Regions from separate parts of the Homo sapiens genome. Here region 2 is linked to region 1. Evidence: promoter capture Hi-C in human tissues and cell types (Jung and others, 2019). All regions are on one chromosome and are shown on one strand. The core of a region is centred on a gene start or on the middle of the fragment in contact, and the rest is flanking DNA. Distances in the headings are between cores, read along the strand shown.

Evidence for each region. Contacts are between HindIII fragments. The study calls those that stand out against the background at their distance.
Region 2: a contact is called between a fragment that was not itself captured here and the fragment with the promoter of LY75 in region 1, in 1 of the 25 tissues and cell types used here (dorsolateral prefrontal cortex).

The regions. Positions count from the first base shown.
Region 1 is chr2:159,903,250-159,906,110 of GRCh38, forward strand. LY75 (lymphocyte antigen 75) reads right to left here and starts at 1,507. Exons shown (of 35, transcript NM_002349.4): 1 at 1,340-1,507. The coding sequence starts at 1,433. It overlaps LY75-CD302 (LY75-CD302 readthrough), which reads right to left and starts at 1,507. Exons shown (of 38, transcript NM_001198760.1): 1 at 1,340-1,507. The coding sequence starts at 1,433. RefSeq lists enhancers at 419-468, 519-568, 789-838, 979-1,058 and silencers at 1,239-1,698, 1,468-1,709. The HindIII fragment of the contact is 14,335 bases long and covers 1-2,861 here.
Region 2 is chr2:160,963,090-160,965,950 of GRCh38, forward strand. No RefSeq gene overlaps it. Among named protein-coding and RNA genes, the nearest start is that of TANK-AS1, 200 kb to the right of the region's middle. The HindIII fragment of the contact is 4,944 bases long and covers 1-2,861 here.

The DNA.
Region 1 (2,861 bases), core at 257-2,756:
TCCTGAAATTTGTGAAGGAGATAAAAACAGGACTGAAGCAGATGTCGATGGGAACCAAGAGGTTAGTGATTGAAAAGTTAGTGCATTTTCACTGTAGTTAGTTGCTGCAGTGAACTTTTCCACCTTGGATTGTGGGGCAGGCAGAATAAATTATCAAGGCAATAAAGGATCTTATTTTAAAGGATTCTTTTGGTAGTTCCTAGCACACAGGGTCAAAGGAGAATAGAGAAGTGTGACTCAGAGCAGGGTTCATTTCCAGGTCCTTGCTGTAGATAGGATGATGCCATTCACACTCTGAGAAATCTCTTCCCATCGCTCTCCGAAGGAAGTCTAAACCAGATGGTAACTTAGCTTAGCTGCAAAGAAAATAAGAGCCACCAACAATTTAATGTTTTTCAAACTGCCTGGACAATCTTTTCCTTCCTCATACAGGCACGATAACAGAAGTGGCCGGTGGAGGGTGGCCCATTGAGTGCCCATGATGCAGTCCAACCAAGAAACAAAGTTCTCTGCACACCCCTCGCCCAGGCAAAAAGAGAAAGTAAAAGCAACCGGTTGCTGCCAAGGGGTGTGGTGTGGTGGGGCTGGCACTACCCTGAACATCAATGAAGGCTGTCTGTTTCTGGTCCTGCTTCCGCAGTGAGAGGCAGCAGGTCCCCAAGCAGGCGACCTGCCCTTCACCGTGAGGCTGTCAGCCTTGGGGGAGCGGGGTCATTTGGAGCTGATAAACCAATGAGAAGAAAGGTTTGTTGCTCTAGGCGGTGGGTGAGGGCATCATAGCTGACTCTTGGTCTTGGTCACTTTCGGAGGAGATGGTTTATTTAACCTGACTTCCTTCCTGATGCGCACCGTAGGCGCAGTGAAATCCGGGAATCGTGGGGAATCCTTGGCGCTGTGGGTGGAGGCTCCTCTTGGCCCTGTGGCCAAGGTGACCAAGGGCCGAAGGAAAAGCGAGAACGGGAGGGACGGGACGCAAGAGGGCAGATGGGGAACCCCATACTCCAGCAACATTATATAAGAGAGGCGACGATGGAGCAGCGCACCCGGCCAAAAAAGCCTCCGTGCGCCTACTCTACGGTGCACCGCGTCCCCTCTGCACCAGAAGGGCCCTGTCCTCCCACATCCACCGCGCCCTCCTCCGGGCCCCCGAGGGCACTGGGGCGCTTCCTCTGCCAGACCTCCCCTGCGACTCACTCTTCCGGCTCCAGAGCCCCCCCGCCCCAACAGCAAAGCAGCCGTGACCTGCCCCAGGGGCGCAGCCCTGCCCCAGGCTGGAAGGCAGCAGAGCTGTGGCGTCGAGGCACCCAGCGGACTGCGGGGCTGGCGTGCCCGCGGTTACCTGCGCGGCCAGAGGGCTCCGCGAGATCGAAGAACCAGAAGAGCAGCATGAGGAGCCCCGCCGGGCGGCGAGGGGTCGCCCAGCCTGTCCTCATCCTGAGCTGGCGCAAGCCTTCCGGCCGGGTCCTCGGGCGCACGCGGCTCCCGCCCCGCCTGCTGAGCGCGGCCTGCCCCGCCCGCACCTCTGTCTAGGCCTCTGGGGGCGCCCCGGCCCCGCCCCCGCCGCCCTCGGCCAATCAGACGTGCGTCTCCTCGGCCCCGGGGCGGAGCGGGCCAGGTGTGGGAAATGAACAGGGCTGGGCGCTAGATACCTGCGTGGGGTAGGACCCGCGAGGAAGAGGTACGTGCGGATCGGTGGGAGAGCCAGGCACCAGACAGGCTCCTGCACTGGAGGGTTCGGTCCCCGCCTCTTCATCAGCCAAGCTGGGGAGATGCGGCCCTTACTGGGACTTGGCACCGCCCTGGTGGGTGGGTTCTATCAGTTTAGAACCTTGGCCTCTGCCTGGCGCACTGTGGTCAGGGACGACTTCTCCATTCCAGCCTGGACTGGAAAGGGACCCATGATCTCTTCTACCCCGGAGGAGGAAGTGAGCACCTGCCCTGTGGGTGGCTGCGGCCAAGCCTAAGAATTCAGTCGTCCTTGGCAACGTCTTGGGTATTTTGACAGTGCAAACAAAGGTGGAATAATGGTACACTGCAGTTCTACCCATAGTTGTTAAAGAATTAAAAGCAAGAATTACTAGAATGACCAAACGACACTTCCAAGGATGACTTATGCTTTATAAAAAGTTGACCTTTGCGAGTAAGCTCTTTGCTTAATAATTTAATGATAATAATAATTAGCTGGTAGAAATGTAGAAGTCTGCATGCAGAACCAGAAATTTCATGTCCCACTCACTCTCTTCCTGTGGACACTGCTATCATTATAAAGAGGCCAAATTCTTAATGACCTAAGTTGCTCAAATGTGAATGTTTTATACTTTTAAATCTCGTCTTTGCTGAGCACATAATGTGTACTTGAGGTGGCCTCCATCCTTGTTGCATGAGGATGCAAAGACCTAGGTTGCTCTTCCTGACTCCCACTGCCAAGGTTTCACAGTTGGCTCCCAAACCTGCTCTGTCCTCTCCCCAGGGTCTGGCCTTTCAGTTCCATAGATATAGTGAGCACCTGCCATCACAGGATCTGGGCACGCCATGGAACAGAAGGACAAAAAGACAACATCTCTGCCCTCCCCTGAATACTGGGGAGACTGAGGCACTGTGATGGATAATATTGTCAGCTCGATTGATATGAACGAATGCAAAGTATTGTTCCTGGGTGTGTCTGTGAGGGTGTTGCCAAGGAGATTAACAGTGGACTGGGAGAGGCGGACCAGCCCTCAGTCTGGGTGGGCACCATCTCATCAGCTGCCAGCATGGCTAGAATAAAAGCAGGCAGAAGTTGGAAGGACTTGACTGGCTGAGTCTCCTGGCCTTCACCTTTCTCCCGTGCTAGATGCTTCCTACCCTCGAACATCGGACTC
Region 2 (2,861 bases), core at 183-2,682, 1.1 Mb after region 1:
GACTTGTATAACCATTTTTTCATCTGCACTGTATGTTCTGCAAGGTGATGGCAACCCTCTGGTAAGTTACCTTGCTGCCAATGTCTAAGTCTTTTCCAGCCAGTTGTAGTGGCATTAGTTCCGATAGTGGCCAAAGTTCTAGTGGCCGTATAGTTGACAGCATTTCAAAGAGTTACCTACTTACTTTCCATATTAGTGTTTACACAACAGAGATTCTCTATAGGCATCTCTATTCCCCAAGAATTTCATGTTGAAATAACAAAATGGCCTAGATTCACCTGAAGATAAATTGCTTTAATTATTAAGCAGACTGTGAAGCTCACAGTTTCAAATATCAGGTCAGTGCAGTGCCCAGCGTCAGCAGAAGCTTTGCTGTGCTATTTCTCCAGGTGCTACTATTGAGCCTTAATATTACTGGAACAATTCCATTCAGGACTAGCTTTATCTGTGCAATTTGCCCACTTCTTCAACAGAAGAAAATTGATCTTAGTAATTGTGAGAAGAAACTATGATTTCCCAGTGTTGTAAAGTTTAGTCCAATTGTTGGCATTATTATTAATATCTATGGAAATCTCACAGCATAATTATTTCTTAGGTCTTAGAATTGATGATGAAGCTGTATAGATACCTATCAACTCTCATTTTTACACTTTATGTGAGCTCATGAAGAGAATAGAGTGCTTAAGACTAACAGCACATGGACTTCAATTGGACAACCTGGGTTTGAATCCCAGCTTTACTTATTTATCAGCCATGTGTCTGAAACTCAGCTTCCTCAGCTTTAAAGTGGAAAGTATTAATTAAGATTACAAAAGGATTACACAAAATAACATATAAGGTGTATAACACAGGGCTCAGCACTCAGAAGTGTTTCATAAACATTAGCTAGGTCAATCTGTGAGTTCCTAATTTCTTTAAGCAAATTTGGGAGCATTGAAAAAAATGACCATCTAATAGCATTTCTAAAGCTCTGAAGACAATTCTTTCCAAAAGAAATTCCAGTTGACCTGTTTCTCTCTAAAGCTTACATCAGCAAGCTTTTCCTAACTGTGATGATCTCAACTTCCTTTCTGGATATTTATTATGCAACAATGCTAACGTTTTGGTTTGGAAGCTCCCCCGCTCAGGTCCCATTATCAATAATCAAGCCAGGTTAAAGCTCTCTAAACATACTTGGCATCAGCAGATGGAATAACCCAGTTTCAATGACACTTTCCCTAATCTTACCATTCTGAATCAGGAGTAGGCATTGTAAGGCCAACGATTTTTAAATTTTGGTTTTCCTAGATATATAATTTTTATGTCATTTTTGCTCTGGGTAAGGGGAGGCCAAGTCTGAACTGAGAAAATGAAATAATAGGGTTTATTTAAGCAAGGTACTCTGATGGGAATTTTGCCCCAAAGCCACTCCTCTCCCTTTATAGTAGGATGAAGCTCACCTTTAGATGCTCACCTGTTGAGATGGGCAATTCTCCCCTGTATTGCCATTTAGATTTACAGCTCCTCTCTTTGAGGTTCACATTCATTAAAACTATACATTTGATGCCCACACTATTCATCTGCTGAAATCATAGTATTCTGGAGCTAAAATTTCACTTTCTGAGACTTCTGTCAATCGAGAGTGTGGTATAAAACAAGACATGTTTTGGCATTTTTTCCAGTAAATCCGCTTTGTTATAATATTTCCTTTTGAAAATACTGATTAATAGTTCATGTAGTTAGTAGTATCCTCCAGGCACTGTTCTATTTGTTTTATAAAAATAATGCCCTTAATCCTCACAATAGCCCTATGTGATGATTAATTATTATTCTCACTTTATAGATGAGAAAAGTCAGGTACAAAGAAGTTAAGAAACCCCCTAAGGTCTCATAGTTGCCAAATGGTGAAGCCAAGATTTGAATGTGGATCTCATATCAGATCCTAAGCCTTTAACCACTATACCACATTCTGCCTCTCATTTAAAAAGCATTAGAAGCATATATAAAATCGAAAAGAAGATTTGGTGCATTACGAAGTAAATTTGTCACAAGTTTAGCATATTTCTGGAACCAAAAATATTAAAATAAACTAATCTTAATTTATACATGTCTAAGAAACCATATGCTTATAAACCACTAGGAGACACAGACAAGGATATAAAATGATTATGAAAATCAGCCAAAAGGTCAATGTAGCTTCCACCATGGTTACTGTGGTATTTTGGTGCTCTTATTTATGAATATTTTTCTTCCTCTCCCAACATACCCAGATTGTAAAAAGGTAAAGAAGAGTTCTTGTGTGTTGGACAATGTTTCTTTTTCTTTTTTTTTTATTAATTTGAGCAGGACATCATTATCCAAGCCCAGCCTTGAATATGTGCTATACACAAAACAATTTATCTACTAGAGTTCATGGGCAGCTGGATTGGGAAAAAACACATTAATTATCATTCAAGTGGAAATGCCCCCATAGACATACCATTTAATTAACAGAGAGGCCAGTATTGGAAATGAGTAATTTGAGGCAAGACAGAGAAAGATGTGTGAGATAAACCCTTAGGTGATTTAAGGACATTATCTGTGGATAAACACTTTAAAATACATGAAATATATATCTATCTTATAAACTCCTTGTAAACATAAAAGGATTCCTTAGAAGAAAGGCCCCTGTGAGCTTCTTCCTTCCCTGTATTAAGTCATCACCTGTTATTAGGAAGCTTGTGTTCCACAGAAACATCAATTCCTTTAGTGGCTGGAAAATCCCACTCCCTTGAATTCAAACTCTGAAAGGATCAGAGCTAAAATCACTTCATGTGGCAAGTTCTTCTGCCTTCAAAAACCCTTGAAATTTGTAGCTTTGCCAAGATTATAAATAGAAGTGA